Linked DNA regions of Homo sapiens: all the other regions are linked to region 6. Evidence: promoter capture Hi-C in 16 types of primary human blood cells and fetal thymus (Javierre and others, 2016). All regions are on one chromosome and are shown on one strand. The core of a region is centred on a gene start or on the middle of the fragment in contact, and the rest is flanking DNA. Distances in the headings are between cores, read along the strand shown.

Evidence for each region. The method cuts DNA at HindIII sites, captures the fragments that hold promoters and counts their contacts. A CHiCAGO score of 5 or more calls a contact.
Region 1: a contact is called between a fragment that was not itself captured here and the fragment with the promoter of CXCL2 in region 6, in 2 of 17 cell types (neutrophils and fetal thymus). The highest score is 6.9, in neutrophils.
Region 2: a fragment that was not itself captured here is called in contact with the fragment with the promoter of CXCL2 in region 6 in 7 of 17 cell types (M0 macrophages, M2 macrophages, monocytes and 4 more); the score reaches 8.4 in M0 macrophages.
Region 3: a contact is called between a fragment that was not itself captured here and the fragment with the promoter of CXCL2 in region 6, in 1 of 17 cell types (neutrophils). The highest score is 8.0, in neutrophils.
Region 4: a contact is called between a fragment that was not itself captured here and the fragment with the promoter of CXCL2 in region 6, in 2 of 17 cell types (fetal thymus and neutrophils). The highest score is 9.3, in fetal thymus.
Region 5: a fragment that was not itself captured here is called in contact with the fragment with the promoter of CXCL2 in region 6 in 1 of 17 cell types (monocytes); the score reaches 5.1 in monocytes.
Region 7: a contact is called between a fragment that was not itself captured here and the fragment with the promoter of CXCL2 in region 6, in 3 of 17 cell types (monocytes, M0 macrophages and M2 macrophages). The highest score is 6.1, in monocytes.

The regions. Positions count from the first base shown.
Region 1 is chr4:73,614,419-73,617,838 of GRCh38, forward strand. The region is part of intron 1 of RASSF6 (Ras association domain family member 6); the gene reads right to left. Among named protein-coding and RNA genes, the nearest start is that of RASSF6, 4.3 kb to the right of the region's middle. The HindIII fragment of the contact is 3,705 bases long and covers 1-3,420 here.
Region 2 is chr4:73,684,464-73,688,274 of GRCh38, forward strand. No RefSeq gene overlaps it. Among named protein-coding and RNA genes, the nearest start is that of UMLILO, 24 kb to the right of the region's middle. The HindIII fragment of the contact is 2,192 bases long and covers 834-3,025 here.
Region 3 is chr4:73,636,431-73,640,026 of GRCh38, forward strand. No RefSeq gene overlaps it. Among named protein-coding and RNA genes, the nearest start is that of RASSF6, 18 kb to the left of the region's middle. The HindIII fragment of the contact is 4,804 bases long and covers 1-3,596 here.
Region 4 is chr4:73,596,260-73,600,048 of GRCh38, forward strand. RASSF6 (Ras association domain family member 6) reads right to left here. Exons shown (of 11, transcript NM_177532.5): 3 at 2,381-2,459. Among named protein-coding and RNA genes, the nearest start is that of RASSF6, 22 kb to the right of the region's middle. The HindIII fragment of the contact is 4,104 bases long and covers 1-3,789 here.
Region 5 is chr4:73,840,282-73,843,714 of GRCh38, forward strand. No RefSeq gene overlaps it. Among named protein-coding and RNA genes, the nearest start is that of CXCL6, 5.3 kb to the left of the region's middle. The HindIII fragment of the contact is 1,931 bases long and covers 346-2,276 here.
Region 6 is chr4:74,097,528-74,101,320 of GRCh38, forward strand. CXCL2 (C-X-C motif chemokine ligand 2) reads right to left here and starts at 1,668. Exons shown (of 4, transcript NM_002089.4): 1 at 1,494-1,668; 2 at 1,272-1,395; 3 at 1,074-1,157; 4 at 1-244. The coding sequence starts at 1,593. The coding sequence ends at 229. The HindIII fragment of the contact is 3,135 bases long and covers 1,130-3,793 here.
Region 7 is chr4:73,819,102-73,822,477 of GRCh38, forward strand. No RefSeq gene overlaps it. Among named protein-coding and RNA genes, the nearest start is that of CXCL6, 16 kb to the right of the region's middle. The HindIII fragment of the contact is 1,254 bases long and covers 1,351-2,604 here.

The sequences.
Region 1 (3,420 bases), core at 373-2,872, 480 kb before region 6:
ATAAAAGAGACCCCAGAAGCTGCCTGGACCCTTCCACCATGTCAGAGCATAGCAAAAAGACCATCTAAGAACCAGACAGCTTGCTTCCCTCACCAGACACTGGGGATATTTGGAACTGAAGAACCACTGATAGCAGCTTCTTATAATTACAAAGTGAAAATTGGCAGTGATGGACTGAAAAATCATTGCAGTAGCTTTCCAACTGGCTCACTCTTTATTTGCATTCATAAGAAATATCAAAGATATCATTAAAGAGGGCAAATAATTGCAATGTAGTTATAGTGACACACTGTTGATCTATGCTGAGGTAACTCATAGCCAGCTTCAGAAGACTTCAGAAGATGTGATGAAAGGGTTTCCAAGGCTCTTATATTATTTTCTGACTTTAGGAAGGAAGAAAGTTGAATATAATTTAATGTAAGAAAATAAAAACAGGATAAAATTTTCATTCATAGGCAGCACATAATATTTGAGTAGGAAATAATATTATTCATGTCTGATCTAAAAATTGGGTAAATAAAATATTCAAACAGTTTAAATACCTGAAAGGTAAGAACATGCTTTGGTAAAAGTCCCATTGTTAGTATTAACAGTGAAGTGAAATACAAAAGTTAGCCGGGTGTGGTGGAACACACTTTTAATCCCAGCTACCTGGGAGGCTGAGGCCCGAGAATCACTTAAACCTGGGAGATGGAGGTTGCAGTGAGCCAAGATTGTGTCCCTGCACTCCAGCCTGGGTGATAGAGTGTGACTCTGTCTCAAAAAAAAAAAAAAAAAAAGAGCAAAACAAATAAACAAACAAAAACAATGAAGTGAGGCATAGATCTATGAATTCAAATAGTTTTTCATCCTCATCTTCCCATTCCCATTCACCATGATTCATAGCAAACTAAAACCTGCTAGGGCCCTTGTGAAAATCTCCTAAATTATAAAGACTTGGTAGATATAAGCATCTGAGCAAATTTTCTCAAGGACTTAAGAGGAGAATAACAGAGAAGTCATGAATAGCAACGAGGGAGAGAATTTATGAAGAAAGAAAAAATTACAGTTCTAGAAGCCTGGAGGTCTTACTTGGGATGTTCAGTAATTTTGGTAGAACATAATAAACTACAACTTGAGGAGGAAGATGGTTGTTACAAATCTATGTAGGCCCTGGGGCCAGAGATTATTGACTTAGATTGTGTGTAAAATAAGATCATTATTTAATAAGTTTGGTTATTTACTTTTTCATTTTGTCCAGAAACAATGAAGCTGGAGAAACAGGGAATTAGATAGGTCAGCAATTAAGTCCTGGAGAAATCAACAGCACTAGAAGTATAGGAGAGGTAGAATTGGTCTGAACAAGCCAATGAGATCTGGATGGAGCCTGAGGAGGCAGTGTTGGGCAGCATTAGCGTTCCAGCAATGCTGGAACGTGGTTCACCTCCCCCTGCTCTGCATTCCTGCCTAGAGGTGGGCTTGCCTGGACTTACCAGTTGCCTTGTGACCAGAATGAGGCCAGAGGACAGGAAGTGAATTCTAGTACAAATTAAATCAAATGGGTCAGTCATTTAAAGTAACTTCCTGTTATCCAACCATGAGTTAATTAAATGGTTACATATCTAAAAGTGGAAAATTGGGTTCACTCGTTTGTAAATTCAACAAATATTTCACGAGTTCCTTCTCTGCACCTGCTACCGTGCTAGGCACAGAAAGTATAGCCTGTATCTATATCTATAGCCTCTTATTTCTGAGGCCACAAGGTGCACAAAGTGTCATAATGCTAATGATTTTACAAAGAACTAATATATATACATATATCTATATCTATCTATCTATCTATCTATCTATCTATCTATCTATCTATCTATACATATATATACAGGTGCTAACTTCCCTGTATTTCCCAGCCAAAGACAATTTCTCTTGCTTCTGAAATTTCACAGGAAATTTTCTGTAGCTTTCTAATTACTTACTGCTTTCTCTCTCTAACCATATTTTATTTTACTTAATTTGATTACTAGGTCCTTTAGGACAGAATTATTGCTATTTCATTTTTGTGTCTTCTAAAGTGAGTGAATATATGCAGGCATATAGATAAAACATACACAAAATATTGAATACATCCAACATACAGAGAGGTATATTATAATATTAATGGTAAAATTAAGAGCTAAGAGATTATGTGTGATAATTATTTCTTTTTTTATTTTGTATGTACTGTCTAAATCATAGACAAGGAATATATGTTACATCTCTCTCACCCACGTCCCCAGTAAAAGCTACTTAAAAAAAGAACAGAAAGTATCACACTAGAATAGCAAGTGTGTATTTCAATTATGAGATAAGAGTATGTTAAGGGCTGTACACACGGAGAGTCTTTTTAATAAAATATTGTTTCAGCTTGAAGAAGCAATAGAAAGTTACAATTATGTATTCATCTCCAAAACGAAACTGTTTTCTCAAAGTTATGACCTGGAACCTTGGAGTAGAGAAGAGCAGAGTTATATGCAATTACATCACTTCAAGAAAATGAGACAAAGCATCTATAATTCCATCCAGTATCTAGTTCTCTCAAAAAAGGAAAAGAGTTAACAGAGTGATGGTTTCTGGGAAACATTTGGCTCCATACTTTTTCTTAAAATGTGCTTTATTTGCAGAGACAGTAAAGGTCAAGAGTTGGCATATATACAAACTATCACTTAATTAAGTAATATTGGTTGCAGTCAGTGATTGTTGGTTTTGAGATAGAAATAATGTATTATAATCATTGAATCTAAGAGAGGACTAAGCAGAATATGAATCAAACACACTTCTATGTGAGCATGCCACTGCCCTCAGTTCAAGTGGAATCTAATTGGAAATGCCAAAACTTTACTGTTCTATTGCATATTTACATGGTACTAATGCCATGCATTTTATTCTGCTCAAGGTGCCCTCAGGGAGATAAAGAAAGCAGAAACGGTCAGAGAAGCAAATTTGTATTAAGGCACTTAAGGCATCTTGCCACCACTGGGTCTGGGAGGCGCTGCTCAGTCTGCCGACAGCATCTTCTGGAATTACTGGTGTGGTGGAACTCAAAAATTTTCTGCTTCACCTGAGCTTCCCAGTAGAAATTCTTAGGCTGACGTCACAAAGATCACGACTCATTTTTCCTGTTTGTATATTTGCTGCAAAAGAATCGACACTCTCTCCTCTTAAGCTCCTTTACTAGGCTCTAGGTGATGATGAAGTTTTCCTTTAAGTTAACATCCTTATTACTTAAATAGGAGACACTTCATGTTCTACTCCTGAAAGCAGTGGTATTAGTTAAGTTTGGTTGTTGAGATTATGTTATGAAAGTGATGAAATCACTATAATTTATCATTTTAAACATACAAATTAATTTTTGCAACAGAATAACTCTCTAACTGTAATGTGAAAGGAAAATATTCAGAATTC
Region 2 (3,811 bases), core at 680-3,179, 410 kb before region 6:
GTTGGAGAATTGAAGCAGGACAACAAAGTGATTTTATTTATTTATTTATTTATTATTTTTTAATTTAAAGATCACCCTTGCTGTTGTGTAGAATAGAAGCAAGGAAACTGTTGTAATAATCCAAGTAAGAAAGGATGATGTTTAGAATAAGGTAGTTGCAGTGAAGACAGAGAAAAGCAGACAGGTTTTAGATGCATTTTGAATATAAATATACGAGGACTTGATCTATTAAGTGGCATTGTGGCAAGGATAGGGAGAAACTGAGGATAAGTTATTGGTGTTTGACTTGAGCAACTAGGTGAATAATGGTCTCATGTACCCAACTGAGGAAGCCTTGGGTGTGAGCTGGTTTGCAGAGGGAAAGAGCTCTGTGTTGGCCATAAGATCCTGGGGAGACCCCAAGACTTCTAAGTGGAGCATTATTGCTAATGATACCTTCCATTTATAGATTATATCATACACTGTTACAATTTCTATTTGTGTGACTGATGGATTGATTGCATGGGCAGATGAGGCGAGCTGGACATGAAGGAGACGTAAGTGAAGAGAGGAGAGGACACAGAAGCAGGAAGGAGAATGTGCTCAAAGATGAGATGATTGTTGGTGACTGCCATGCAGAATCTAGCCTTGGCTCTGCCATGTACCCCTGAGAGGAATATCAGTTCTCTTTCCTCTCCCATGTCCTCCTCTGACTATCTTTATGGGGACTGAAATGAGGCACTTTTCAAAAAAGGTAAGCAATAATTGGCCCATATCTCCTTTCTTATGCAATCCTCATTTATCTTTGAGATGTTATCACACTTGATATATTCCCATTCCAGTTGTCATATTAAAGCTTCTTAGTCGATGAACTTCTAGATTCACTTAGATTTAGGAGCCAGGAAAAGAAAATATTTATTCTAATATGTTGACATTTACCACTCTGATATTTATATTTCAGTAAGTATAACTTGAATGATTTATTTAAAGTATTTTCTAAAACCATAAAGTAACACTGAAGACAGATCATGAATGATGTATTTTCTATTATGTACTCAGTTGCCAACTGAATTTTAATTTTCAGAGGAATGCTATCTTAAATTACTAGATAATATTTATGTCAGTAACTATATTTTTTTTATTTTTTTATTGTGGAACACATAGGAAATAGCAAAGATAGTACAGAGGAGTACAGTGTACCTTTAATCTGGTAACAGGCACTATTTTAAAAATCTGAATATAACACGCCCAACACAGGATAACCCAGATTCATAAAGCAAGTTCTAAGAGACCTACAAAAAGATTTAGAATCCCACACGATAATGGTGGGAGACTTCAACAGTCCACTGATAATATTAGACAGATCATTGAGGTGAAAAATTAACAGATATTTGGACCTGAACTCAACATTAAAATAAATCTGATCGTAGAGAATTATATTTTCAGACCTCTACAGAACTCTCCACCCCAAAACAAGAGAATATACATTCTTCTCATTGCTATATGGCACACACTCTATTAATTGACTAGCAGTCAGACATAAAACAATCCTCAGCAATGCAAAAGAACCAAAATCACACAAACACACTCTTGGACCACAGTGCAATAAATATAGAAGTCAAAACTTTAAAAATTGCTCAAAACCATACAATTACATGGAAATAAAACAACCTGCTTCTGAGTGACTTTTGAGTAAATAATGAAATTAAGGCAAAAATCAAGACTTTTTTGAAACTAATGAGAACAAAAATACAACATAGTGGAATCTCTGGGATACAGCTGAAAGAGTGTTAACAGGGAAATGTATAGCACTAAACACCAACAACAAAAGGGAATATTTCAAATTAACAACCTAATATTACAACTGAAAGCATCAGAGAAGCAAGAGCAAACCAACCCCAAAGCTAGCAGAAGATTAGAGATAACCAAAATCCAAGCTGAGCTGAAGGAAATAAAGACATGGAAAACCATTCAAAAGATCAGTGAGCCCAGAGTAGTTTTTCTGAAAAAATTGATGAGATAGATAGGCTGCTAGCTAAACTAATAAAGAAGAAAAGAGAAGATTGAAATAAACACAATTAGAAACAACAAAGGAAATGTTACCACTCACCACACAGAAATAAAAATAACCATCAGAAACTACTATGAACACCTCTAAGCACACAAACTAGAAAACCTTAAAAAGATGGATAAATTCCTGGACAATATAACCTCCAAAAACTAAACCAGGAAGAATTTGATTACCTGAACACACCAAAAATGAGATCTGAAATTGAACAAATAATAAATACCCTACCAACCCCCCAAAAAGCCCAGGATCAGATGGATTTAGAGCTAAATTTTACCATATGTACAAAGAAGATCTGGTGTCATTTCTACTGAAACTAATTTTAAAAATTGAGAAGGAGGGACTCCTCCCAACTCATTCAATGAGGCCGGCATCATTCTGATACCAAAACCTGGCAGAGACACAACAAAAACAGAAAACTTCAGGCCAATATTCTTGATGAATATTAATGCAAAAATCCTTAACAAACTACTTGCAAACCAAATCCAGCAGTGCATCAAAAAGTTAATCCACAATGATCAAGTAGGCTTTTTCCCTGGAATGCAAGATTGGTTCAACATACACAAATAAATAAATGTAATCCATCGCATAAGTATAACTAAAGACAAAAACCACATGATTACCTCAATAGATGCAGAAAAGGCTTTTGATAAAATTCAATGTCTTTTTATGTTAAGAACTCTCAGTAAACTAGGTATTGAAGGGACAAACATCAAAATAATAAGTCATCTATGGCAAACCCACAGCTAACATCATACTGAATGCGGAAAAGTTGGAAACATTCCCCTTGAAAACTGATACAAGACAAGGATGTCTTCTCTCACCACTCCTATTCAACATAGTATTGGAAGTCCAGGCCAGAACAATCAGGCAAGAGAAAGAAATAAAGGCATCCAAATAGGAATAAAGAAAGTCAAACTGTCCCTATTTGCAGATGACATGGTTCCATATATAGAAAGCCCTGTAGTCTTGGCCCAAAGCTTCTTCAGCTGATAAACAACTTCAGCAAAGTTTTAGGATACAAAATCAGCATACAAAAATCTCTGGCATTCTTATACACTAATGACAGCCAAACTGAGAGCCAGATCAGGAATGCAATTCCATTCACAATTGCCACAAAATAAATAAACAAATAAATAACCTAGAAATGTGGCTAACCAGGGAGGTGAAAGGACTCTACAATGAGAATTACAAAACACTGCTCAAAGGAATGAGATAACACAAACAAATGGAAAAACATTCCACGCTAATGGATAAGAAGAATGTATATCATTAAAATGGCCATATTACCCAAAGCAATTTACAGAGTCAATGTGATTTCTATCAAACTACCATTGATATTCTTGACAGAACTAGAAAAAACATTTTAAAATTTATATGGAACCAAAAAGGAGCCTGAATAGCCATGGCAATCCTAAGTTAAAGAACAAAGCTGGAGGCATAATGTTACCTGACTTTAAACTACAAGGTTACAATAACCAAAAGCAGCACGGTACTGATACAAAAACAGACACATAGGCCAATGGAACAGAATATAGCCTCCAGAAATAAGACCATACACCTATAACCATCTGATCTTTGAAAAAGCTTCCAAAAATGAGCAATGGAGAAAGGACTCCCTATTCAATAAATGTTGCTGGGAAACTGGCTAGCTATATACAGAAGATTGAAACTGGACTATTTTCAAACGCCATATAGAAAAATCAACTCAAGAAGGATTAAAGACAAATATAAAACCTGAAGCTATAAAAACCCTGGAAAACA
Region 3 (3,596 bases), core at 606-3,105, 460 kb before region 6:
AAGCATTTTCCCATAGAACAGGAATAAGACAAAGATGTCCACTTTCTCTATTTCTATTTAGAATAGTACTAGAAGTCCTAGCCAGAAGAGTTAGGCAAGAGAAAGAAAGAAAGAAAGAAAGAAAGAAAGAAAGAAAGAAAGAAAGAAAGAAAGAAAGAAAGAAAGAAAGAAAGAGAGAGAGAGAGAGAGAGAGAGAGAGAGAGAAAGAAAGAAAGAAAGAAAGAAAGAGGGAAAGAAAGAAAGAAAGAAAGAAAGAAAGAAAGAAAGAAAGAAAGGAAGGAAGGAAGAAAGAAAAGAAAGAAAAGGGAAGGAAGGGAACAGAAGGGAAGGGAAGGGAAGGAAAGGAAAGGAAAGGAAAGGAAAGGAAAGGAAAGGAAAGGAAAGGAAAGGAAAGGAAGGGAAGGGAAAGGAAAGGAAAGAAAGAGAGGAAGGAAGGAAGGAATTCAAATTGGAAAAGAGGAAGTCAAACTATGACTGTTCATTGATGATATAATCATAGACCCCCAGAAAACCCTAAAGATTCTTCCAAACGACCCCTAGATTTGATGAATAAATTCAGTAAAGTCTTAGGTTACAAAATCAATGTACAAAAATTAGTAGCATTGCTATATACCAACAATGACCAAGCTGATAATAAAATCAAGAACTCAATTCATTTTACAATAGCCGCCAAAAAATAATTCTTGGAATATACTTAACCAAGGAGGTGAAAGATCTTTAAAAGGGGAACCACAAAACATTGCAGAAAGAAATCACAAATGACACAAATAAATGAAAAAACATCCCACGTTGTGGATTGGAGGAGTCAATATCATAAAAATGGCCATACTGCCCAAAGCAATCTACAGATGCAATGGAATTCCTATCAAGATACCGACACATTTTTTTTTTTACAGAGGTGGAAAAAACAATCCTAAAATTTATATGGAACCAAGAAAGAGCCTGAATAGCCAGAGCACTCCTAAGCAAAATGAAATAATCTGGAGGCATCATATTACCTGCCTTCAATTTATACTACAAGGCTATAATTACCAATACAGCATGGTATTGGTATAAATGTGGACACACAGACTAATGGAACAGAACAGAAAACCCAGAAATAAAGTCAAATACTTCTAAGCAACTGATCTTCAACAAAGCATACAAAAACATAATTCTGGAAAGGACACCTTATTTAATAAATGGTGCAGGGAAAACTGGATAACCACATGTAGAAGAATGATCTGGGCCCTTATATCTCACTTTATACAAAAATCAACTTAAATCTAAGACCTGAAACCATAAGAATTCTAGAAGATAACCAAGGAAAATCTCTCCTGGACATTGGCCTAGAAAAATAAGTTATGACTAAGACCCCAAAAGCAAATGCAACAAAAACAAAAATAAATAAATGGGACCTAATTAGGCTAAAAAAACTTCCATTAGGCAAAAGAAATATTCATCAGAATAAACAGACAACCCACAGAATAGGAGAAAATATTTGCAAACTACCATTGAACAAATGACTAATATCCAGAATGTACAAGGAACTCAAACAAATCAGCAAGAAAAAATTCAATTAAAAAAGGGACAAATGACATGAATAGATATTTCATGAAAGAAGATATACAAAAGGCCAACAAACATATGAAAAAAATGCTCAACATCACTAATCATCAGAGATATGTAAATTAAAACCACAGTGAGATATTATCTTACTTCTACAAGAATGGCCATTATTAAACAGTCAAAAAACAATAGATATTGGTATCGATATCGATTTGGTGAAAAGGGGACACTTACACACTGCTATTGGGAATGTAAATTAGAATAACCTCTATAGAAATCACTATAGAGGTTTCTTAAAGAACTAAAAGTATATATACCATTTGATTCAGCAAATGGTAGATATACCAGATACTGCTAGTATTTACCCAAAGGAAAAGAAGTCATTACATCAAAAAGACATTTTCTTGTGTATGTTTCTTGCAGCACAATTCACAATTGCAAAGACATGGAACCAACCTAAGTGCTCGTTGCCCAATGAGTGGATAAATAAAATGGTATATACACACCATGCAATACTAGTCAGCCATAAAAAAGAATAAAAAAATATATTTTGCAGTAGCTTGGAGGAGCTAGAGGCCATTATTCTAAGTGAACTAAATCAGGAATGGAAAACCAAATACCATATATTCTCACTTATAAGTGAGAGCTAAGCTACGGGTACACGAAGGCATGCAGAGTGGTATAATGGGCTTTGGAGATTTAGAAGGAGGGGATGAGATGGGGGCTGAGGATAAAATACTACATATTGGGTAAACTGAATACTACTTGGGTTACAGGTGCACTAAAATCTTATACTTCACCACTGTACGATTCATCCATGTAATCAAAAACCACTTGTACCCCCAAAGCTATTGAAATTCAAAAATAGTTTTAAAAATGTTATAAACCATTGATTGTAGTTTTTAGATGGATTCACAACTGCTTTCTGTCCCATCCTTAATAACTCTAGTTACAAGTGGGTCATAGGTGCTTGCATAGTTTCAGAAAATAGGAGACAGTTGAGTTTATGTTGATTACAGCCACAACAAACAGCTCCTGGAGCATATCCTGTTTGCAATAAGGGATCCTTCCTGGGCTAAATTCTTGTGATGTCAAGCAGATCATGGTATACTGACAGAAGTAAGGTAAGCACTTGAGTGATGTAATTATATACCTTATGGGCAGTGTCTGCATGTATATTATGAAAACACACAGTGAAATAAATACTACTCTATCTGAGCCACTCTTATTTAGGCTATGTAGTTTTCCCCTCTAATTTTCACAGTTTACCTTTGCTTTTGGCATCTAATGTTCTGTGCTTTTTCTGCTTTTATTTCATGTTGGTCCAACAATCCCAGGAATCTTGAGTAGTTCCCAAATTTTGGGGGCACTATGACCTATTTCTTCTGTTTAAATAAACTTTATGGAGGCTTAATTTAGATTGTGTGAATAAAATTTACTATACCACACTTTCTCAACTGAATTTTGCTACTTTTGTAGAAAATAATCTGTTCATTTGTATGTAGATCTTTTCCAGAAAATTATCCTGTTTCATGGATACATTTGCCTAACATTATCTCAATACCACATAACATTGATTACGCTTCCTTTATAATATACCTTGCAGTCAGGTTGTATTAATTATCTAATATTATTATTATTTTGCAAAGTTGTTTTGCTCTTCTAGGTTCTTTGAATTTCCATATAAATTTTAGGATTAGCTTGCCATTTTTTACTTAAAAATTTAGCTGATATATGTGTCATATATGAACATATATATAATTTTTAATTTTTTGTGAGTACATAGTAGGGTGTGTATATTTTGGGGTTACATGAGATATTTTGATACAGGCATGCAATACACAGTAATCACATCGGGCAAATGGGGTATCCATTCCCTCAAGCATTTATCCTCTATGTTAAAAAAATACAATTATACTCTCTTAGTTATTTTAAAATAACTTTTGACTATAGTCACCCTGTTGTGCTAGCAAACATCGGGTCTTATTCATTCCCTCTGACTTATTTTGTACCCACTAACCATCACTCTGTTCCCACCAACCCCACTG
Region 4 (3,789 bases), core at 800-3,299, 500 kb before region 6:
TTCTTAAGCTGATAAGCAACTTCAGCAAAGTCTCAGGATACAAAATCGATGTGCAAAAGTTGCTAGCATTCTTATACACCAACAACAATCAAGCCAAGAGCCAAATCCCAAACAAACTCCCACAAAAAGAATAAAATACCTAGGAGTACAGCTAACAAGGGAAGTGAAAGATATTTACAAAGATAACTATAAGTCACTGCTCAAAGAAATCAGAGATGACACAAACAAATGGAAAATCATTCCATGATCATGGATAGGAAGAATTAATATTGTTAAGATGGCAATACTGCCCAAAGCAATTTGTAGATTCAATGCTATTCCCATTAAACTACTGTTGACATTCTTCACAGAAATAGAAAAAACTATTTTAAAATTCATATGAATCCAAAACAGCCTGAATAGCCAAGGCAATCCTAAGCAAAAGAACAAAGCTGGAGGCATCACACTACCTGTCTTCAAACTATACTACTGGGCTACAGTAACCAAAACAGCATGATACTGGTACGAGAACAGACACACAGACTGATGGAACAGAGTAGAGAACCCAGAAATGAGACTGCATATCTACAAGTATCTGATCTTCAACAAATATGACAAAAACAAGCAGAGGGGAAAGGATTCCCTAGTCAATAAATGGTGCTCGGATAACTGGCTGGCCATATGCAGAAAACTGAAACTGGATCCCTTCTTTACACCATATACAAAAATTATCTCAGGATGGACTAATGATCGAAATGTAAAATGTAAAACTACAAAAACACTGGAAGATAACTAGGTAATACCATCCAGGACACAGGCATGGGCAAAGATTTCATGATGAAGATGCCAAAAGCAATTGCAACAAAACCAAAAATTGGCAAATGGGATCTAATTAAACTAAAGAGCTTCTGTACAGCAAAAGAAACTATCAATAGAGTAAACAGACAATCTACAGAATGGGAGAATATTTTTGCAAACTATGCATCTGACAAAGATCTAACATTCAGCATCTACAAGGAACTTAGACAAATTTACAAGGGAAAAAACCAAACAACCCCATTAAAAAGTGGGCAAAGGACATGAGCAAACACTTCTTAAAATAAGACATACATGTGGCCAGCAATCATATGAAAAAGCTCTACATAACAGATCATTAGAAAAATGCAAATCAAAACCACAATGAGATACCATCTCACACCAGTCAGAATGTCTATTATTAAAAAGTCAAAAAATAACAGATGCTGGTGAGGTTGTGGAGAAAAAGGAACCCTTATACACTGCTGGGGAGTGTAAATTAATCTAATCATTGAGGAAGACAGTGTGTTGATTCCTCAAAGACCTAAAGACAGAAACACCATTTGACCCAGCAATCCCATTACTGGGTATATACCCAATGGAGAATAAATCATTTTATTATAAAGACATATTCACACATATGTTCATTGCAGCACTATTTATAACAGCAAGCACATGGAATCAACCTAAATGCCCATTAATGATAGATGGGATAAAGAAAATGTGGTACATGTACACCATGGAATACTATGCAGCCATAAAAAAGAACAAGGCCATGTCCTTTGCAGGGATGGAGCTAGAGGCCATCATTCTTAGCAAACTGATGCAGGTATAGAAAACCTAATACTGTTTGCTTTCACTTATAAGTGGGAGCTAAAGGATAAGCACACATGGACACATAGAGGGGAACCACAGACACTGAGGCCTATCAGAGGGTGGAATTTGGGAGGAGGGATAGGACCAGGAAAAATAACTAATGAGTACTAGGCTCAATAGCTGGGTGAAGAAATAATCTGTACAACAAACCACCATGACACATGTTTACCTATGTAACAAACTTGCACTTGTACCCCTGAACTTAAAAGTTAGAAAAATGCTTTCTAGCTTCAGGACTTTCCTGAATTCTTTCTTTAATATTTCAAAATTTTTATTATTTTGATATAGTGCACATCTATTGGAATCTAATGCATTCATTTTAAAACCCAAATCAAATTTGACATTACAGATGCATCATAATTTATTTGAATAATCCCTAATTGATAGAGATGTCTTCAATTTTCTGCATTACAAATGACATCACAATGAATATCTTTCTATATACATTCTGACGCATTTGTAAGAAAGTATTGTGATAGATTTTCAGTGTAAATGCTGTTAAAATATTCATATTCTATTTTTAAAATAGAAAGAAAATATGTCATTAAAATTTTTAAATGCTTTTCTATCTCAAAAATGCTTAGAAAGTCACAAGTGTTCCAAGCCCAAGTCTAAAAGAATCATAATCAAGTTAAACTTTCACCTGTTTCTTCCAGAATTGTGTGTGTGTGTGTGTGCACGCATGTGTGTGTGTGAATAACACCGGATTGCCTTTCTTCAGTGGGCTTACCTCTCCATATAAAATATGCAGATTTTTCTGGTTCTCATAAAAAATGTTATAGGTCTTCAATAAAGAATTAAGTTGTTCCCTAAAAATAAAAAAAAATTAATTACAATCAGTCTTAGAGTTTTTAACGTAAAAGGTGATAATGGTACTTTCATAAAGGTATGAGATAGAAAGAAATAGTTTAATGGAATCTTTACTGTTCTGTCACTTTAACTTAACATAAGTCATTGGAAGTGGAAGCATTCTTAAAATATCAGCAAATGTTGAAGTTGCTAATTCATAAATAAATAACCAAAGGTGGGAAATGACTGAGGACAAAAATGGTGAGAACAGTGTTCTGTAGCAGGAGGCAGCCACGAAACAGGAATTTGGTTTCATATTCCTTTTTGTATTTCAACATTTTTAACCAACCTAAATTAAGCACTGGTGTGTGGCTGATACCATCTCTCTATACACTACTCCCTCCTGTGTCCCCAGGGCATGGGATGGGACACCAGTGCCCCAACTCTCCAAATCTGTGTTCCCTTGTGTAAGTCACTTAGTATCCCTGAATTTCCACAGCTGTGAAATGAAGGTGATCTGTCCTACTTGCCGGGGCTGTTTAGACTATTAAAGGCAACCACAGAAGTCAAAGATCCCAGCTGGCTGGGTGAAGCAACAGTAAGCAAAGGCTCATTGTTACTGTGGCAGGGGAGCTTCTCTCCTGGCCTGCCCCACACAGCTGACAATGGCCGACTTTGGCCAGGAAAGTTTGTAGGGGAGGAGCCCTCTACCTTTCCGCCCTTCTAGCTGGGTATCAAGATCTGAGACCAGATGTGCTGGTGAGTGACTCAGCGCTTTCTTGCCTGGAAACTCCTCCCTGTGTCTCCCACTGGGAAAACAGCTGTGGTAAGGAATGCTCCTGACTTATCTCACCCTTTGTGGCAGGTGGGCCCTGGCAGTGGGAACACTGGCTCTTACCATACCTCTATTCTATCTTTCTCTCAGTGTCTCTATGTCTTGAGATGCTCCTCTTGAGATGATCATCATTTCTCACTTGGATTATTGCAGCAGCCTCCTAAAAGCCTCCCTGTATCTGTTGTTTACTCTCAACAGCAGAAACTGTTTTAATGCAAACCTGACCATCTCTCCTCTTTGCTCAGAACTCTTCAATGTCTTCTTGTTTTTCAGATTAAAAGCCAACATCCTTACAATGGCTTAAAAGGCTGGATGCAACTGGTCTTCTGTTACCTCTTTCATCTCATTTCCTCCCACCCTTCCCTCACTTCATGCAACCACCAGCCTCCCTGGTGTTCCTTGGCCACTCCAGACAGATTCTCATCTTGGGGCCTTTGCACTTGCTGATCCCTCTGCCCAGAATGATATTCCCCCAAACGTTCACCTTGCCAGCTCATTCATCTTCTTTAATTATT
Region 5 (3,433 bases), core at 61-2,560, 260 kb before region 6:
AAGAGACACAAAGATATGAAAAAACTTAAAAAGTAGCTTCAGAGATGGGTTTTCTAATCATTTTTTCAACAATAAAAAAGTACAAAATATCTCTAATTTTTTAAAATGCATTAAACTTCTGTGGTCTCTTTTTGCTCTCTCAAATGGTATTTTTTTTGAACTTATGGATGATACAGTAATTCTGGGGAAATACTAGAAAGCAAACCAAATTACAAAAATGAGCTCTAAATTTCAGTGTTTAAAACAATCCCTGCTATGTCACATTAACTCCAAAATACTTATTGAAAAATGCTTGATTATAAAAGATTAAAGAATATTAAATGCCCTTTGTACAGGTGAAATATAAGCTTCATAAGGAAATAAACATTGCTGGTTAGTTTTTTGTTTTTGTTTTTTTTTTTTGAGACCAAGTCTCACTGTCACCCAGGCTGGAGTTCAGTGACACAATCTCGGCTTACTGCAACCTCCGCCTCCCAGGTTCAAGTGATTCTCCTGCCTCAGCCTCCCATGTAGCTGGGACTACAGGCATGCACCACCACGCCTAGCTAATTTTTTGTATTTTTAGTAGAGATGTAGTTTCACCATGTCGGCCAGGCTTGTCTCAATGGTTTTTTGTTTGTTTGTTTTTTTGTTTGTTTGTTTGTTTTTATCATCAAGCTCTGTTTTTTTAAGAAGCAACACTTGTAAGTTTAGTTTGTTCATAGAAATAGAATGAAACATGATTTCTAATATTCTTGCAATTCTAGTTGTCAGGCCCATTCCGCAAATGGTCACTCTATAGAGAAAATAGATTACAGTATATTACTGAAGAGTAACCTATACAAGCAACTCAATGATAGCTACTGTTCACTCTTTCAACCATTCCTAGTTGATCTTTCTACTAGCAAACTCAAGGACTAACATATTTGGGGAAACTTAATCTAATGTAAATATCCTAGGGATAAGTCTTCTAGTTTCTTCATACTAACCCCTAAATACTATTTTCACTCTGTTATCCGTCTGAAACTCTATCTTATGTATAAAGTCACTAGATATTGAACAAATGCTCAGCTAAAATCTACTCTGTTACTGCTCCAATCCAGACAATTTTAAATGTATAATTAATGTCCTTCATTATACCAGAATTTCCTGTTTGCCTCTATGTGTGACGCATTCATATAATCCTTCAATTCCTGAAGGTATGACAAGATCTATGATAAAATATGACTAGTGGCTTTGTTTTTCTATCATGATTTTAATTCTTGCTTAAGGAAAATAATTGCTGTGGATAACTCTCATGTTGTATATAACTTCAAAATACCTTCCTGTATGTTACAAAATGAGAAATTTACCAGATGGAAGGAGCACTTGGGGATTTCTAGTTGCCTCCCTGACTAAATCAAGGAAGAGGAGGAGAAGGTACCATGATTTGGATTTTGGCTGACAGTCCTGGTTCATTCTTAGTCAGAAAAATTAATGTTATATTCCTAAGAAGGATTGTTCATACCTCAAATATGTGGAGTGAGATAAGAACATAGAAAGACCTAGAGTTTGGGTGTATAATTTTGTTTCTACAAATTTCAAAGTTCTGTTTCTGAAACATAGATAAGTTGCAAGGACGCTTCTCTGGAAAATCCACTTTTTTTTTTTTTTTTTTTTTGACGGAGTCTCGCTCTGTTGCCCAGGCTGGTGTGCAGTGGCGCAATCTCAGCTCACTGCAAGCTCCATCTCCTGGGTTCATGCCATTCTCTTGCCTCAGCCTCCTGAGTAGCTGGGACTACAGGTGCCTGCCACCACACCCAGCTAATTTTTTGTATTTTTAACAGAGACGTTTCTCTAACACATAAATTTATGTTTGTTTTTAATCTACCTCTAGGGTTAGATAAAGAGAAAACTAGTTGACTTACTTCCAGCAAGAGAAGCTAATTATACTTCTTTATATTTTGTGGTGCAGTACAGAATTAGAGCAATTGCATTTCAAATCTAGTTTTGTGTATTTCCAGCTATGTGAACTTGACAATTTGTTTCACATCTACCTTCCCCAGCTTCCTCACCTGTAAAATCAGTATAATAGCTATCTCACAGGCACTACCCTGGAACAAAGTAGATTCTTGGTAAATATTATTAATAATTTCTTTCCCAAGACTCCTAGTTCAAACTCCCCCTTACAAATGAGAAAACTGAGAACTTAGTAGTTTAAACATACTTATTTTTTCTTAATTTATTTATATTCTTTTTACATATGCATGACTAATTATTAGTACTCCTAAAATTTTTTCTATGAGTCTTTTTATAGAAGCTTTTGAAAGCTGTATATTCTATTTTTTTGTGAAGTACATGGTAACTATCAAAAATTATGATGTATTTTCCTTCATATAAACATTCTTCAATCAAATATCAATTTATTAACCTTTATTGATAATCTTGTTACATACCTGACCCTATGCAAGATCCTTATAAATCTGGAAATTATAAAAATGAAGAGCTTTCTGTCTGAGTTAAGATCTCTTTACAGCAAATATACTGTTTCCCACAGAACAAAGATTTTCTAATAAGGGGAGAGAAAGAAAGGGGAGGAGAGGTGAGGGGAGGGACTAGGAGAAAGGAAAAGGAGAAGTAAGAAAGAAGGAGGAGAGTGGAGGGGCTTGTGTTTTGTGTTGACTTTTTTTCTATTTTCTTTCTTCTTTCCCCTTCCCTCTTCTCCTCTTCTCTCCCCTTTCCTTCTCTCCCTCCCTTCATCCTTTCTGTTTATTCCTCAGAAGTAAAATAATGCTATTTAAAAGAGGAAGAGAAGGACCCAGGTACCCTAGCAGAAATCTCAGCCAGCAGCCAACACCAACCACCTCTCATAGGAATGAGGCCAGTTTTGATTTTCATCCATTTCAGTTTCTTCTGACTGCACCCACTTAATTGAGCTTAGCAGAAGAATCTCACATTAACGTGTAGAATTATCAAAATAATAAACTGTCATTTTAAGCCACTAAATTTAAGGTTGACTTCTTACACAGCAAAAGAGGATCAAACGGTACTTGCTAACAATTGAATGTGTTTGCAGACTCTGGAAAAACATCGTACTGGAATTTCCTCAAATGAATGAATATGTAATGAAAGTGGGTAACAGTCATACATTTGAGACTCAGCAAATTATACTGATTAACATAAATTGAAATGAAAATTCTCAGGCCTGCAAAACTTTGCAGCACTTCTATGTAACAGTACCCAGGAAGATATTTCCCCAGCCCCACTCTCCCCACTCTTTCCCCACCCACACCTCATGTTTCACTGGAAGACAGTAAAACCTCCATTAACCTGAGTGCCAGTGGTCTGAATGATTCATATCAACTGAGAGTCACACATAAAACACATTTGGTTTCAGCACTTAATAGAAACTCTTTTATTGACTAGTATTTCAATTTATTGATTAAAATACTTTAACAAACTGACCCAAAATTTT
Region 6 (3,793 bases), core at 418-2,917:
ATTCAATCATAACCTTATTTTACACATAAAATATTAACATAGAATCTTCTAAAACAAACAAATAAATAAATAAATAAATAAATAGAAGACTTCTCCTAAGTGATGCTCAAACACATTAGGCGCAATCCAGGTGGCCTCTGCAGCTGTGTCTCTCTTTCCTCTTCTGTTCCTGTAAGGGCAGGGCCTCCTTCAGGAACAGCCACCAATAAGCTTCCTCCTTCCTTCTGGTCAGTTGGATTTGCCACTGTAATGAGAAAATGGGTGCCCTGAGTAGGTGCTCAGGAAAGCTGACTGCACAACAGTCTTCTCCTGTCCTGTTTCCCCAGGCTCTAGAGTTTTCTGAATGCAGTTTCCCCAGCCTGGCACCCAAGTGGGTACTGCCTGTGACAGCTGTGCTGTGTGGCAAGGACCTCTAGGCTTGGGATGCTCTTTTAGGAATGGGGGTGACGTGGGGTGGAGGAGTGGCAGTCTACACTGTTTTACTGGCTAAAACAGCCAGAGCCTATTGCTCTTTGTCATACTGGGCCTCACTTGAGCCTCAAAGCAACCTCATGATGTAGCTACCATTATTTTCCCTGTTTTGCTGAGTCTCAGATAAACTAAATAATATTGTCTCTGAGTGACATGGCTAATAGGTGGTGGCAACCAGTTATATACCCAGTGCAATATTATTGTGAAATCTCTGCACTTCAACCCTAAACTTTTACAAAAAACCAGGGGGTCTGCTTTTCAGGTCTGAAAGTCAGTAGGAACTAGGGGAAATGAAGCTTGTGTTTTTTAACAGGTGGAAAACACTTCAGCACAACTGGCAAACTCCAATGAGACCTTACATGAAAGCAGTTTTACCTACATTCACTGGCAGGAGGGAAGAACCTGGGTGGTGACCCTGGGCACTGGGAATATCCTCTGGCACCAGAACAGATTAATAACCTTAATGGCAACTTTGTGAAAATAATAATTTTTTCAGTCCTGCAGCTAACCCTGGGTTTTCCTGATTTACTTTTTAGGGGGCAGACGCCAGTATTTCTGACCAACAGCTCCAGTCGCCTGTGTACATGGAAATTATAACTTACTTTTTCAGCATCTTTTCGATGATTTTCTTAACCATGGGCGATGCGGGGTTGAGACAAGCTTTCTGCCCATTCTTGAGTGTGGCTCTGCAGAGAGAAGGGAATCTCGTGAGACAGGAGGTCGGGCTGAGGACAGGGTTTGGGGCAGCGGGAGAGTCGGGGACCCCAGCAGTGGCAGCGGCAGCGATGGGCGAGACTTACATGACTTCGGTTTGGGCGCAGTGGGGTCCGGGGGACTTCACCTTCACACTTTGGATGTTCTTGAGGTGAATTCCCTGCAGGGTCTGCAAGCACTGGCAGCGCAGTTCAGTGGCCAGGGGCGCTCCTAGGGAAGAAGAGACTCGCTGATTGAGCGGGGCTGTCGGCGCGGGGCGCCCACCCCAGCCGCGTCCGGCCCGGGGACCCCAGGGCGCCGGGACCCACCTGCTGCGCGCCGGCTGGCGGCCACCAGGAGCAGGAGCAGCAGCGCCACCCGCAGGAGCCGGGGATTGCTGGGGGCGGCGGAGAGCGTGGCGCGGGCCATGGGGCTCAGCAGGCGGTTCGAGCGGCTGTGCGAGGAGGAGAGCTGGCAAGGAGCTGCCTGTGGCCCGGGCTCTGTGGCTCTCCGAGAACGGCGAACCCCTTTTATGCATGGTTGGGGCTGGAAAGCCCGGAGTCCCGGGCCAGGGAAATTCCCGGAGCTCCAGATCGATCCCGAGTTCGGAAGGAAGGCGATGGCCCCGCCTCTGGGGTGGAGGGGGGTCGGGGCACTCACGAGTGACGTCCGGGTCTGACTGTCTTGCGTAACTCCCGCCAACTGTGGGATGTTCTCTTTCTGCCCCGAATCCCTGGAGCGGGAGCGAGAGCCCGCCGCTCTCAGAGATACCGAGATAACCGCCTGCGAGGAGGCGCTTCGTGAACCCAGTGCAGTGCGTCGTGGGTCAGATCCCTTAGACCCACGTAGGGACCGCGCTACATCCTTACCGGGGGGAGTTACTTCTCTGGAAGACATTTCAGTTGTTGGGATTGAAAGTTAGGGCAAGAACTGCAGCATGTCTTATCTATCCTCTCTCTTTAGTTTGGGTTCTGCAAATTTCATTAATGTTTGAAATAAACGCACGCTTTAACAGTACATGTGTCATCTCAGATGACGCATAAGAGCTTTTGTCTCCTTCCTGGTGTTTTATGATCTTAAAAGCAAATATCACGTGTGTGTGTGTGTGTGTGTGTGTGTGTGTGTGTGTGTGTGTGTGTTTCAACGTAGTGGAGCCAGGTGTTGGGTGCGGGAACAGACCATTGCCAAGGGTCAATTCAGTGTTTATTTTAGTTAACAGTGTTGCAATCCCCCATCCTTTCTCTCTTTGAAATCTTGGAACATCTCGAACTCTAGTAATTCCAGTAGCATCAATTTTTTGTTGTATGGAAGTCTGTGTTTTGATCCATGGAAGTCACTGGGAGCTGCGAGGGGCCTGTTGGGCTCAGGAGGTCTGCCTTTTCTAGTGCTGTCCCTGGGCAGAAAAGGCCATAGACACCACCAGAAAAGGAGCAGGGAATGAGACTCCGCTTGTTTACTACTCTAAGCACAAGCAGACATGTCTGATATATACATACTAGATTGCTAACATAATTGCATTTCCATGCCATATGTATTTACCAGCATCCTGGGATTGGTTCCCTCTAGAGAAACAGCTATCGAGGAAATTTTAGTTCTAGAGGAATGTCAATAAAGCATTTCCAAGCCTGTTTAGCTGATGCCTTCTCACTGGATTACTGACTTTTCATCATCAATTTCAATGACCCCCTCTCTTTAAAAATTAAGCTGTAGGCCTACAATACTCTGTCTTAATTCTTCCTGGTGGATGCAGACTTCAGGGATATGGAGATATTCTGCCACTGCTATGAGAAGGGCTGGGAGTGGCACGAGGATGAAGAAGTGGGACTACCTTAGGAATAGAGTGTTCCCTGGATGCTGCAGCTGTAGAGATCACTTGATAAGGATGTCAGGGCTGAAGTTTCAGCCATACCACTAACTTGCTTCATGACCCTTGGTAATTTATGCTTTATTTGCTCATGTTTCTCCCCTGTAGAAGAGCTTATAATAGTGCCTGCCTCACGGGGTTGTTAGAAGTATTGATTGTTAATATGTGTAAACCATCAGTGCATGTAAAGTGTTATGTAAATATTTGTTAAATAACAAAATAGAAGTGGTGTTTCACAACCTTACTGATATAGGCTGGATGTTTGTGTCTCTTTCAAATTCAGATGATGAAGCCCTGACTCCCTTATGTGCTAATATTAGAAGACAGGACCATGGGAAGTAATTAGGTTTAGGTGAGGTTATGAAGGTATGGCCCCCATGATGGGATAAGTGCCATTACAGCAAGAGATCAGTGAGCTTTCGATCTCTGGCTCTCTCTCCCTTTCTGCATTGTGAGGACACAGCAAGAAGGCCACCATCTGCAAACTGAGAAGAGGGCCCTCACCAAGCATGAAATCTGCCAGGATCTTAATCTTGGACTCCCCAGCCTCCAGAACTGTGAAATAATTGTTGTTTAAGCCCCCTAGCCTATGGCATTCTGTTATAGCAGCTCAAACTGACTAAGACACTTAACTAAACAGAAGCACTCTGATAAAGCCTTATGAACACACACACGCACAAAGAAAGAAATATTTTCAAAGAAACATCTTCTAATTTACCTTTAAAATTTTTCAGCATCAGAAATTTTAAAGGAGGGTGCATTTCT
Region 7 (3,376 bases), core at 728-3,227, 280 kb before region 6:
TCTATGAACTGGAGAAGAAACATAGGAACACAAATGGTAGAGGACTTTAGTCTCTTAATGACAAACCAGACTCAGAAGTACCAAAGTTTATTTTTTAACAGACAAGCCTTTATTAGGAAATCAACTGAAGATAGAAGGAAGGACAATTTTGAAGATCTTTTCTGATTATTGCCTGTCTCTCCTGTCACTTAATGTTATGAGACAACAGCCTTGTTCCTCATACAGTCAGAGATCAATAATGTCTTTGTAACAAATGCATTAATAGATTAATTAACAGAAATAAACCTTTATGATTTGAGTTCTAGTGCCTTTCAACTGAGGGTATATTATGAAGAGATTGAAATTCTTTGCAGAAATTGTTACATTAAAGAAACAGATGGATATGGGTCTTCTATTTCATAGAGACCCAACATGAACTACAGCAGCAATAGCAGTGACAGGTCTAGTCCAAGGTCTTGGCACATTATTCTAAGAGTAAGCTAGGAAAAATTAATCAACTTGGCTACCAGAACGTAGAGGTGGGGACAAAAATAAAATAATAATCTCTTTTCGTCTTGCATATCCTCTTAGAAGACCTCATGAGTTGAATACAAATAGCTGTTAATTGAGGAAAGTTTCATTGCATATGTATTAGCAGGGTATATTGAAGGGTCATTCATGGATAGGATTATGGTACTTTCTCTACATAAAGTGAATGTTGGCTATTCACAAGACAAATTATTAAATTAATCAGTGATTCATGGAAGTGTTAGAATAAGTCTTGGGGATTGCTTTATTAGAGATTAGTGACATTAGGACATCTGTTGCATAATAGGACTATTGGTAAAGAGTGGGCAAGAGAGTTATTACAAGATCCCATTATCCAAATATATCACCAATTCAAAAAGAATTCTGAAAAACAGCATGTAAATGTCTATTGATTATAATACTCTTAATTGTCTATTTAAGGCCAGTTATAAAAGCAGTAATTTTGACCTCCATATCAATCAGGATGAATTTGTTTGCTTATTACAAAATTAGTGTTTTATAGTTAGGATGATATCACCAGATAGATGAAGAGGAATAGGAAAACCCCACCTTTGCTCAGTGCAGTTTCTCATGCCTTTAAATAATAAGTGTCTCAGGAGATGTATCAGAAGTCCCTGATAGGTTTCAACACAAAATGAAGAAGGTGGTTTATGGTGAGACCCACCTAGATGGGTAACTGTAGCAGCAGGTAGTGGCAGTGACAGCAGCTATAACTTGTTTTAGCAGTAGCTGCAGCAGCAGCTATAATAAAAGCATCCACTGCCCAGTGTTGCATGTTGAGTGTCAGCGATGCAAGCCATGGTGTCTCTGACCTGTGGGAAAAGCTTACTTTACCTTCACCAGTCTGGTTCTGCTACATGAATTTGGGCATCGTTCTCGATGTGCATCCTCTGAGACTTGCTCTCTGGCCCTCCTAAAATTTATGTGAGCTTCTGAGTGTCTTTTTAAAATATACTTCTTTTCTGTTTAAATTGTCATTTGTTATTTGTAACTGATTGTATCATTGTCTTTAGCAAGCTGTTAGGGTAAAAGAATCTGCATGAAGTCTCTTTCAATATCTCCCTGGAGAAAGCCAGTTCTGTGAGGCTTTTATGCACAAGGTGCTCCTCAGGAGGGAGTGAGCAGCAAAGTAACCAAAAGTTATTCCTGACATCCCACTGATAATCAGCAGTTTCTTTGGGAAGCAAAGTTACAGAGCAAAAAGATTATGGGCCTTGTAACCAGAAACTACCATTTACAGTGTCTATAACAAGTTGATTAATCTCTCTGGGACCTTTTTTTCCTTATATGTATACACAAATAATAACATTTATTTTGCAGGGCTGTTATAAGATTGTGGGAAAATTGATATGAAGGATTGAGCCAGGTGCTGTAGAAGATGAAAAATGAGTTGGGTAATGCAGGAAGAAGAAAATGAATTGAACATGAGGAAAAACAGTGAGACTGATGATCACTAAATATTGGGGTCCTCAATGCACCATTTGAGACCATGATGTGAGCTCTCTCTCTAGGTGGATTCCACAAGTCATTCCTTATGTGATGTCTCTCACACACATAGCTTCAGCACAAACTTCTTCCCTGAGTTCCAGAATCATAAACAACTTGTTCCATGATATTTTCACTTGGATATTTCACAGGAATTTACAATTTTAAACGTCTAAAAGAGGATTTTTTTTTTATTCCACTGCTGTGTAAACATGTATTTCCCCATTCTTTCATATCTCAATCAATGGCATCCCCATACAGAGTTGTTTCCATCAAACAACAAGGAAACATTCTTGAATCTTCCATTGCCAGTATCCAAACTCTTCAGAATGTCCTGGAGGTTGTAACTGTGAAATATATAGAGACTCTTTCATCATCTCTATGTCTCAATAGATATCATCCTAGCCCAATCCGTCATAATTTTTCATCCAGAACAAGGGTTGCCAAACTTTCCGTAAAGGACCAGAAAGTAATTTTGTTGTTGTTTTGCAGGATATACAGTTTCTTTCACAATTATTCAACACCGTCATTACAGTGTGAAAGTAGCCATATGTAAAATGTGTGCAAATCATTGCAGCCGTGTTTTGCTAAAGCTTTATTTACAGACATGTGGCAGACCAGACTTAGACCATCCTGATAGTTTGCTTAGCTTTCACCAAGATTGTTGGAGTTGCCCTCTAACTTGAGTTTCTTTTTCTTTCTTTTTCTTTTTTCTTTCTTGAGATGGAATCTTGCTCTGTCACCCAGGTTGGAGTGCAGTGGTGCTATCTCAGCTCACTGTAACCTCCGCCTCCTGGGTTCAAGTGATTCTCCCGTCTCAGCCTCTTGAGTAGCTGGGATTACAGGCACACATCACCATGCCCGGCTAATTTTTATATTTTTAGTAGAGACGGAGTTTCGCCATGTTGGCCAGGCTGGTCTTGAACTCCTGACGTCAGGTGATCAGCCCACCTCGGCCTCCTCAAGTGCTGGGATTACAGGCGTGAGCCACCATGCCCAGCCTAACTTGAGTTTCTTAATCCAAAGTTGACACTACGACATTTCCACACAGAAGTCAGATTAAAAAAAAACAAAAACAAAAACAAAAAAAAAAACAGATCATACCTTCTTGTAACATAACATCCTTGAATTGCTTTCTACTGCAAATAAAATAAGTTATAAACTCTGCATCTTGGCCTAGAAATTTCTGCATGACCATGTCCCTGATGACCTCTGTGATCTCACTCATGTCATTTTCCCCCTTTCTAAGTTCCAGCCATCAGCTGCTACTCTTAGTTATGAAAACATAGCAAACTCGTCCTGCTTCTGACTTTTGTCCTGCCGTGTGTTCTGCCTGGAACCCTCATTTCTATGCTCTTTGCAG